Regions from separate parts of the Homo sapiens genome. Here region 2 is linked to region 1. The links are contacts of gene promoters, found by promoter capture Hi-C in blood cells and fetal thymus (Javierre and others, 2016). All regions are on one chromosome and are shown on one strand. Each heading gives the region's core, a stretch centred on a gene start or on the middle of the fragment in contact. The rest is flanking DNA. Distances are from core to core; before and after follow the strand shown.

Region 1 (5,370 bases), core at 971-3,470:
ACACCTTCTGGCAAGAATGACACCTGAAGATGTTAATAACACAGGGTGTGGGGGGGTCAAGAAGGAGAAAGGTGGCAGCACAAACCAAAAATTAGTGCAGCTTCCTAAATACTATGTCCCCCCCATTCCAAAAAAAAAAAAAAAGCCCCAGAAACACATGAAGGGGATTTTCTCCAGTGTTTCTGATTAACCCTGTTACATAACCCGCTCGCATTCCAAATCCACCGTCTCAGGGTCTAAATATACTCTTTGCAGCCAAAAGCTCCCCGCACACAAACTCACCGAGCTAGCGGCAGGTCCAGGCCCCCAGCCCTCATCCCCTTCCCTTTTGTCCCAGCCCTCGCCGCCCCCCTCCCGCTGAAACCGCGGTTCGCCGCGGTCACCCTTTGGAAATCGCCTTTAATTAAATGTTTTTCGCGTGTGTCATCCTGATGGCTTTTACTGTACTCGAATTCCGTGAATGGGAAAGCGCCTGGACAGGGGGTGTGGCTAAGGTGGGGGGGGGGATACTGTAAAACAGCCAGCACATGATCAGCCATATTCCTACCTCCAACTACAACATCGAGAGGAAGGGAGCAGTTCCTGGGGCCCCCATTCGCCTCTACCCAGCCCTCCCCAACCGCCGCCAGAAGCCGAGTGCAAGAGGAGGGGGCGCGCTGGGCCGGTACCCAAGCCGGGGCTGGAGAAATCCTCTCCGTCCCCAGCTCCAGGCGGCTCGCGCGAGCACGCTTCCTCCGGAGTGACAGGCGCGATTTATACATTATTTACAACAGTAATTAAAGCTGTAGCTTCCTCCTGTTCTTTGCAAACTCCAGGCGCATTCAAATAAATAATCCCCCACTCTCGAGAAAAACACACATCAGGTTCCAATACCTTCAAGAAAGAGTGAGCTTTCCTCAACAGCTCACTTTAGGAAAGGAGGGAGCAACTGAGTCCCCCCCATCCCCCCCAACACACGCAGACACAGACCAAACACCAAAATGAAGAGTAAAAATCGCCAGGGGAGGAGAAAACATTGCTTGCACTATCCAACCAGCATACAACTTGCACTGACCATCCCCAGGTTCCTGCAGAAATGCTTGGAACCTCCGAGAGGGAAGGATTCCCAGAGCAGAAATAAGTTTCGGTGCTTGCTTTTGTAGACGCTCCCTCCGGATGCGCGTGGAGCGCCCCACAGGACCGCCGCCCTCTGCGCGTTGGCGCGCACACGCCCCCCGCCAGCCTGGGCGCCGGGCTCCGAACCCCCGGTCTGCAAACTTGCGCATCTCCCCTCGCCGCGCCCGCCAGACAACTTGGCGAACAGCTCGCCCGCCCGCACCCCGCTTCCTTCGGCCCTTCCTTCAAATCCCAAACGCACCGCCGTGCTCCAAAGAAGGTGTCCACGTCGCCCCCAGACCCCGGAGCGCCCCCTCTCCACCCCCGGGACTTCCCAGGTCGCTCACTCCTCCCGCCCCCCGCCCAGATCTGAGAGGGACCGAAAACACACCCCCGACTCGGGCAGCCAGGGCCGAAACTGTCAAGAGGAGAAAAGGTAAAGCGGAAGGAGGGTGGCCATAAACAGATTTTTTTGCCCCTTCTTAAAAGGACACTGCCGCTTTAAAAGTTTCTTTCCCGGGCCCCCACTCCCCGCATCTCCGTATTTTGGGGGAGCGTATTTAATTGAGGCAACGCAGCTTTCCTCCAGTGTTTGCAGAAAAATCAAAGCCAGGGGGGTGAGCCCGCCGGCTGTCAACCTTCCCGCCGCCTCCCCCGCCCCACTCTGCTCCCGCAAGCCGAGAACGGGCTGCAAAAGTTTGCAACATTTCTGGGGGGCGGAGGGGGGAGGGGAGGGGGGTCCTCCGGGCTCGGGGCGCCGCCGCAGGCTCGCGCGCGGCCGCCGGACCCCGCGCCCCGGGCGCCCGCTCCCGGCCGCCCCCCGCTCCGCGCCCGGGCTCCCGCCGCCCCCTCCCCAGCCCCTCTCCAGCCTCCTACCTCTGCTGGTGCTGGAATAGCTCTGTCTGCGCACCGGGGCAGGCGGCTCGCTCTTGCGGGCGGATTCCTGGTTCAGCGGGGTCTCCCTGGAGCCGGCGGCCGCGTCCGCGCCGCTGCTGCCTGGCTCGCTGGCGGCGGGGTCGGGGGCTGCCGGAGCTGACTCCATGTTTTTTCCCAATGTAGAGATCGCTGGAGATGGCGAGCTCCGAGACTCCCTCTATCTTCTGTTTTCAGAGCAACTCTATGGTACCAAAAAAAAAAAAAAAAAAAAAAAAAAAAAAAAAAAAAAAAAAAGAAGGAGAAGGCGACCGGCGAAAGCAGGAGGGAAAAAGCAGGCGGCGGCGGGCGGGCAAGCAAAAGCGCGAGGGAGCGCGCGGAGTGTCTGGGTGGACGTGTGTGTGCGCCCGAAAGGGGACAAGAGGCGGGTCTGGCCACAGGCAGCGCTAGCGAGAGCTTCTCCAGCCGGCCCCCACACCCACATTCCCCACCCTCCAGACCCCAGACCGAGAGCCACAGACTGGCTGCCAATTTTGGGAGGTGGGGAAAAGAGGGGAGGAGGAGAACAGAGCCTCCCGCGCCCCAATCCTCCCCTCTCCCCAGCCCAGGGACAGAAATTAAAATCGGTGAGATGATTCCGTGCCTACTTCTGAGACTCTCTCGGGAACAGAACTCGTCCCCATCCGCTGCCAGCTTGGGTAGAGACAAATCCGATTGTCCACGTCCACGTTGGGAAATCGCAGGTAGCCCCCTGCCAGCCCTGCCGAGGGCTGAGGAGAAACTAAAAAGGAATTAGAACGGGGCTGACATCCCAAGGAAGGCGGAGGATGGGAGGACGTGGCACTTTTTACTTTGGGATGGGACGGCCAGTGGGTTTCCAATCTTGGTTAAAGACATCTGTGTCTAAAACAGATTTTGTGAATCTAGAAGCGCCATGGACAGTTTCTGGCATGGTTGAAAGAGGTCGCTTTCAGCTCCTTTGCTGTTTGTCCGCGAAGGATCCAGAAACCATTTGGCAGGGCATTTTCTACTGAAGAAAACTTTGGCCTGTTTGGTCGACAACTATCTAAGCTGGATAAAACATGCCACGCTGCATCTAGCTCAAGCGTGGCTGCTAATTGTCAATTCCCACTGGTACTTTTCCTATTAAATGTACAGTCTCATCCATAAAAGGTAGATATACTGGAGAGGCATTACTAATGCCCGGATAACATTCAGATAATTAACAGCTCCTAATAATTCGTATTATTATAGGCATCATTCTACACCCTCCTCCCATTGAAATACATTCATCCCCTAGTAGGTACCTAAAACTCCAGGAAAGCAGATAATTGCATCATCGTTACCTTGACTGCAAACTCCAAGATGAAGGAACAATACAAATTGAAAGAATGGAAAATACTCCAATGGTAGTAGCCTGATTTGTCTGCCTTCATACTCAATCTACCACTTTCTTTTGCCTGCGAAGACACTGTGGAAATACGCCCCACCTTCCTTTCAAAAGGATCCAAAATTTTGACAATAAATAATATTATTAGAGGCCAGAAGGTGGCATAAATATATGTGCTTCAGAACGTGGGGTAGGCGGAGGGAATTGGGGGACATTTTTCTTTTGCTAACTTCCTGGTTTGGAAAAATGCTTTAAAAAATAGTAAGTGCGGGAAACCCAGTTAGCTAATCCTTCAGAGGAACCGCCATATGCCAAATTTCACACATAGTTTCTGTTACTGTTACTGATCTTGATCTTATTTCAAATACACAATGCCCTTTGCCATAGTCTGTGTACTAATCAGCAAAACCTGTGGTCCACTCTTCGGGGTGATGTAAATGAGATGTGAACAGTCCTGATACCTTAATCCTGTCTCTGCAAGGATCCCTGGCTTTAGCCTGTCTGTTGGCGCCTACAAACAATGCACAATTGTCTCCTCCATCCCAAATCAGACGTGTGGGTTTCCCCATACGTGAAAGCACAGATTTCCAGAGTAGCCTTCACAACATTTACCATTGGTTAGCCTGTTAGTAATGTTCTTGATGCAATTGACCTAGCTTGTTACACTTGACTTTTCTAAGGAAACAAATATATCAAAGTGTACAGTTTAAGAAACAACTTCCTCTGGGACAGTGAGCATCTCAGAATACATTGGCTGCCTCATGTTTATTTTAGAATACTTTAAAAAATACTCGTCACATTAAATTTCACCAGTAATTCTATCTGGGACGCAAGTGACTTAAAAAGTATCCCTGGTTTCCTTTTAGGTACCAGTAGCAACTTGTTAACATTTTTTATTAAGTCTGTTCCCCTTGGACCTTTAATGAGTTTCTTACTGTTCTCCTTTAACTAAGGTGATGTTTAGTCACCCTGAAAAGACCATCTAGAAAATAGTCATAATGACCTGAATCAATTAAAATAGACTCTATATTCCCTTCAGAAAAAGATCGCAGCTCCAAAAAGCCATTTCTCCTAACTCTCTAAGACAATTACTGCTTCTGCAATTTAAAACAATTGGGAACTCAAGTGCTTTCCCCAAGGGAAAAAATAAAAGTGAGTTAGATACATTCCTTGACTGTCAATCACTGTGACTAAAGTGTAAATTACCTGGATTGGGGAAGCATTTGAAACCTGAAAAGCACAGTGATTAGGTTTATATTTCTTTCCTTCCGTCATGCTCCCTTTCGGATTACTAATTAAGGCTTTCCAATTTTCCAAATATTTGAAGAGATGGGAGCCTTCCTTAGACTCTGCTCATTGACAAAGGGCAACAGTGTTTGCTTAAAAATGGTTATTTTACTTTGCACCGAGTTCCCTGAAAATGGCTTAGAAAAGCTATGCTTGTGGAAGAGATCAGCCTAATTTCAGTTTTTTTGTAACTCCTCTTTGCAACACCACAGCCATCGCCCCCTACCTCCTTGCCAATCCCAGGCTCCTCTCCTGATGGTAACATTACTTTTCTCCTACTCTAAGGTAATTACTGGGAACCTCAAAGTTAACTTTGACTCCTCTCTTTTGCTCCTGCCCCTAGTTCTCCACATCCTAACATGCTTGCCAAGTGCTACAAATTCTACCTACATGACATATGCCCCTCCTTTCTGCAGCCATCCATGCAGTTCCAGACATTATTGCTCACCTAAACCATCTCAGTAACCTCTTAAATAACTGGCCTTCAGTCTTATAACCATTCTAATCCATTCCAGATAGTACTGCCAAGTTAATTACCCTGAACTACAGCTCTCATTTCCCACCATGTCACTCCCCTACTTACAAGACTTTAATGGCTCCCCATTGCCCATGCAATTAACAACTAACTAGTCAACGCGGTATTGAAGGCTCTATCTCCCTATCTCTGCACTCCTATACCAAGGATGGCAAGTCGATCTCGTCATGTGGAAAGGTGTGGGCTGTGA
Region 2 (5,370 bases), core at 1,164-3,663, 600 kb after region 1:
CCCTGGCCTGGACTCCTCTTTCTCCCGCTATGCACAGGAAGGAGGATGGAGGATACAGGAAATCATTCAAGAAGAAAGATTAAAAAATAAAAGGTTCAGAAGAGGCAGGAAGCTAGAGAAACCAATGTGAAGAAGATGGAAAATGGGAGAACGTGTCACAAAGAAACAGCAAAAAGAAGAAACCCAGTGTTAATTAGGCCCCGGGGCCCTCAGTCACCCACGGTAAGTGGTAAATTAACTTCTCTCCGCTGCATCTGGAATGGTCCTAGTTATGACTATGAGAGCATCGAAATAAGTGGACAGGTGCATCCCGCAGATGCAAGTCCAGCCGTCCTGAAGCAGCAGAGCCTCTCACATGCTGCAGGACAGACACAAGGAGCCTCCAGCCCAGCACCCAAAACCCAGGAAGTGCCTGATAAATACTTGTTGATGGGAATGAAGAGCAGCCAGGCATCTGCAGATTTGAGAAATGCCAGGGATGGTTGCTGTCACTCAGCCAAGGGATCCAGAGAACCAATGAGGCCTAGATCTAAAACCCATCTGACTGCCCCAATTAGCCTGGAAGCTCCAGGAAGTCAGCGACCACATCTCAGTCATCACTGCAGCCCTGGCCCCAGCCAGGGCCTGGAACAGGAGGCATCTCCCCGTGTCATCTGACTCTGCAGGGAGGTGGGCACCAGCGCAGGCTGAGGGGACACTGTGGGGAGGGGACGCTGTGAGTGTCCTCACCTGGAGCTCCAATGGAGAACACTGAGAGTGAACCACAGGCAGCCAAGGCCAAGGCAAAGCTTTGAGCAGCACAAGGAAGCAGGAGGAGTCGTGGCCCTCTTGGCCCTGCCATGGGGCACTGCGGGAGTGCACTTCGGTTTGGAGGTGGTGGGGGTAGGGACACCCCTGAGGTATTTCCACCCACATTGCCTATGTTGCCCAACCAGCTAGATGGCCACCTCGCGGAAACTAAGGAAGCTGTGGTTTGTGTGAAGGGAAAGGTGTCAGGAAAGTGTGGCACCCCACAGGGACCCCAGTGTGGGGCAGCCGCTGGGCCCCACCGGGAATAGGAGACTGAGGAAGAAGGCCTGCAAGGTCAGAGCCCACTGATTTCAAAACCCAAGTGGACTTCATTCCTGAAAGGTAACGTCATGGCCCCGTGGTGAGGACGGATAATCTGTCCACACTGCCAGTTGCTCCTCACCTGAGGGGAGAGGCTCGGTGACAGGGGCAGGAAAGGGACGACTTGGGAGCTACTGGACAGAGCTGGCACTGGACTGAGCCCACGGAGCAGGCTGTCTGCACACACTACCAGGTCCCAGACACACCAGCTGCAGCCACTAACACTGGCAGAGCCCAGCAAGGGAGGCAGCAGCAGTGGTTTTCCTCCTTCCGTTACAGATTTCTCAATCAAGGCCCAGAGAGGTAAACTAATCTGCTCAGGGTGGCCTGGCTAACAAAGGAACAGAGAACGGTCTCAGGTTTCTTGCGCTGCTCCTCCTCTTCTCGGCATCACACTGCCTCTCCCAGGGTGGAGGCGTGGGCACTCGCCCTCACTCTCTCCATCTCTCTCCCAGCAGATGCTTACAGGGTGCCCCGTTGTGGAGGGCACAAGCTGGGCACTGCGAACAGAGCGCAGCCCCTGTCTGTGTGACCCACAAGGTCCACTGGCCCTGGGGTGGGGCACGGGGCAGCATCAATCCCTAGTGGTCTTGGCTTTCAGTCTTTCAGAGCCTCCCCTGGGGCACTGCCCCACCTCTGCCGAGAGTCCAGCGTTCACTCATCCTCCCCCAGGGAACTCGAGGCTTGGGGAGCTATTAATAAATACAGTTTCCCCTCCACACACCTTCATCAATCAAGCGGCAAGAACCTGGGGTAAGGCACAGCTCCAGGAAGCCCCAGCTACGATGAGCAGATAGTACCTGGGCAGGCCTCCTTTGCACCCCTAGGCACCAGCATGGACCTGTCTTAATCACCAGGCCCCGAAGAATGACACAGGCCTCCACAGCTCAGGGAGCTCCTACAAATGAGGGCTCAGGTCAGCTCTAAAGACAACTGCCCTATGCCCTAGAATCCTCTTGACAGAGGCACAGTCCTTCTGTGTCTCTGAAGGTCATGCCGTCCTTCAGGTATTGGATTGCAGTTTCTAAAAAGACCTAGGAGCTGTATCTCAGGTGAACAGTGCTCCCAGCCAGGCAGCCCGATCTGAGCCGGAGGCCACAGCCACGTCTCCCTCATCTTCGTAGACCCAGAGCCACAGGTTCACCTCTGAGCTTTGTCACCACCTACCCCTTCCCTGGTGGCCACAGTGACATGTCTCCCAGCTCTTCCCAGCTCCCTGAGCAGAAACAACTGTCCAGCTCATCTTTATTCCCTACAGTAACTGGTCTATGAGCACGTGATAGATATTTGTTAGAAGAGGATTATGGAACGCTTTGGTTGATAAAGAAAGAGGAATAATATATTCCTTGAGCTACATGTTTCTTGATTTCTTTCTGGGTGTACTGTGGAGAGCCCATTATGTTAGTTCATTTAGTTCTGACGACAATGTGTTGATGTGGGTAATACTATTATCCGTATTTTAGGAGGAGGAAGCTGAATAATAGGAAGAGCCTGGGCTGGGTTTCAAACCCAGCCTGCCTATCCTGGAGCCACATTCTCAGCCAAATGTAGAGCCCTGCTTTTCCCTATCAAAAAAGAATGGATTCCCAGGGATCTGTCTTTTTCTAAACATCAGCATGACTCTGTTTCATCTTAATTGCCTGGCACACAGTAGGTGATCTATAAATGTCTAGGAAAGATTAATAAATGAATGTCATCAATGTCGATGAAAAAGCAAATATTGAAGGAAGAAAAAATTTAAAGATGGGCACTCTGTTCTGAAGCATTATCAGCAATTTCATGGTGTGTGTTTTTTGTGTGTGTCTCATACGCAGACACTTGCAGGCACACACATACCACACAAGTCTATGATCTCAAGTTTGAGAAAGTGAATATTAATTACTTCTACAAAAAATATTACAGGCTTTTCTATCCCCCAAGATGTGCTTCAAAACTGTACCCATGTTGCAATTCAACCTTCCTTCTGCTAATCTCACTATGCCATTTAAACTTCTACTGTCTTTATACGGCGGCGCCAAGGGTTTAGGCAGAAGTGTAAGAGATGAGAGCCCAGAGCTTCTACATGGGCAACAGTGGGATCTATCCTGGATCCTACCCTTTCTACCTAACCCGGGAACTTGGTAAGGTCCTCAGTGTCTCTAACCATGGCTCACACACTCCTTCAGGTCTAGCTGTGTTGTCTTTGTGCGTGTGTGTGTGTGTGCCCGTGCAGCGCATGCACACCCAAGAAGGTCCAAACTATTCCCAAATTTAAATCTTTTCTCTCACCATAACCCTAAATACAGCATGCACATTAGAAACATATATCCAAATATGGGGTTCAATAATGAACCATTGCCTCATCAGACATTATTTCCTCCAAAATGTATACAAACACTTAAACCACTCCTTTTATTAAAAAAAAAAAAGAGCAAAAAAATGAGGACCAACAATCTATAAAAGGAAATTCAGATAGAGATGGGGGAAGTGGCAGTGGTTTTGCAGTTTCCAAAGGTGAGCCTCCAAGGGACAGAGCTCACTCAGCATCTGCCAGCTAATGAGGTCATCGTGATCATTTCTTTGCTTTAAGAGACAGGGTCTTGCGCTGTCACCCAGGCTGGAGTGCAGTGGCGCGAACTCGGCTCACTGCAGCCTCAGCCTCCTGTCCTTAAGTGATCCTCCTGCCTCAGCCTCCCAGAGTGCTAGTACTACAGGCGCATGCCACCATGCCTGGCCCTATGGGTGGATTTGACTTTGGCCACTCAATGCTCCTTGGAAAAGCCCCCTCTACTTCAGAATCCAGTATCCCCTTTCCTCACCACCTCCCAGCACTGACATTTAGAGTTTTCACAAACATGAAGTCCACACCACTCTAAACAAACTCTTGGATGCTCCATTTTGCTCACTTTGGCAGAAGCTGAGCTTTCTGTCCCGAGATTGAAAGAGGCACGAAGCTTAAGTCACTCCGCCACCCTGTGGCCAGCGAGAGAACTGCACGCTTCCCGCGGGACAGAGGCCGGGCTCTGGAACAATGAGCTCACAAGCCGCACACAATTTTTAAATCCATCATAGCACCTTTTAGGAGCACCTCTTCAAAGGCCCTACAGTAGTTCTTAACTGAACTGGAAATTGCCTGCTTTCCATACAATTGTACACAAGTGTTCTTCTGTTTAAAGGGACCGATTCATCTATTTCTGGGTGCTTTGTTCTCCAAAACAGTGTGGTTAGAAATCACCCCCAGGTTTATCCAGTTCATCCTCCTGCCTCAAGGAAGGACGCCCTTCAACCCATTCAGGGAACACACGTCGCTGCCGTTTTATGAAGAGTATCTGAAGGCAGCGTCACAATCTCCTAAAACGCACCCATGTGTTTGAAGGTCAGGGGCTCAGAAGGTTTTCTCTAAAGTCAAACCCAAATTCCTGCTGCTGCAAAGACCTGAGGAAGTACGAGCAACCCCTGCTGAATCTGATGTGAGTTCGAGTCCTAATTGCAGGACTTACTTGCTCTGAGCCTTTCTGTTCTGATCTGTGACGTGAGGGGCGAGGGTCATTCTTCCTGCCCCTGCCTTACGGTTGTAGGGGCATCCCGTGTGCAAAAGCACCCTGTAAGGCTTTTAAAGTGCGGTGGGAATGTGGCTCCGGGTTATTCTCATCGAATGTTCCACGGTGTCAGAAGACATTCACAGAGGGGCAGGTTGCACAAAACGAGGTCCTTAAACACAGAGCTAGGAGGAAACAGAATGGGGTAGGTGCCGGTTAGGTGGACCAGACATATCACACCCCCCTGCTCAACTTGGGGGTTACAGTGCACGCTGAGAGCGGGCCACCGACAAACCATGAACCAGTGACCTGCTCACTGGCATTTTGAGCCGACAGTAACCCCCCTCAGCCACAGAGTGCCAGTGCAGGAGTTACTCTGGCCAGGGCAGGGAGGCCCGGGGGCTCTGTGACACAGAGCTTGCCCCGATCACGGAAGCCATCTGTCCTGGATTTTCTGGAGTTCTGGTTTCAAATATTCCAGTCTATTGTTCCAGCAAAGACACAGGGCTTTGCAGGGTCTGACAGCTGGGGTTCAGGAAATATAGCCCCAGAACCCCATCCTCGCAGCACCCTTTTGAATGGAAGAGACATAAACGATCATAAATGAAAAACCCTCACTGCGGTCTCTGAAATCCCACTCCTGAAGTGAAGGGCTCTCACTGTGGCCACCCTGTCCAGGAAGTCGGGGGGTAGCCTGTTTCGGGGTTGGAGCTGGAATCCTCCCGAGTCTGTGATTGGCCAG

Evidence for each region. The method cuts DNA at HindIII sites, captures the fragments that hold promoters and counts their contacts. A CHiCAGO score of 5 or more calls a contact.
Region 2: a fragment that was not itself captured here is called in contact with the fragment with the promoter of RORA in region 1 in 6 of 17 cell types (M2 macrophages, M0 macrophages, endothelial precursors and 3 more); the score reaches 9.1 in M2 macrophages.

The regions. Positions count from the first base shown.
Region 1 is chr15:61,227,082-61,232,451 of GRCh38, forward strand. It overlaps RORA (RAR related orphan receptor A), which reads right to left and starts at 2,221. Exons shown (of 11, transcript NM_134261.3): 1 at 1,972-2,221. The coding sequence starts at 2,137. The HindIII fragment of the contact is 13,095 bases long and covers 1-5,370 here.
Region 2 is chr15:61,830,219-61,835,588 of GRCh38, forward strand. LOC124903501 (a long non-coding RNA gene) reads left to right here and starts at 4,477. Exons shown (of 3, transcript XR_007064668.1): 1 at 4,477-4,559. RefSeq lists enhancers at 395-1,260, 1,261-2,125. The HindIII fragment of the contact is 3,255 bases long and covers 787-4,041 here.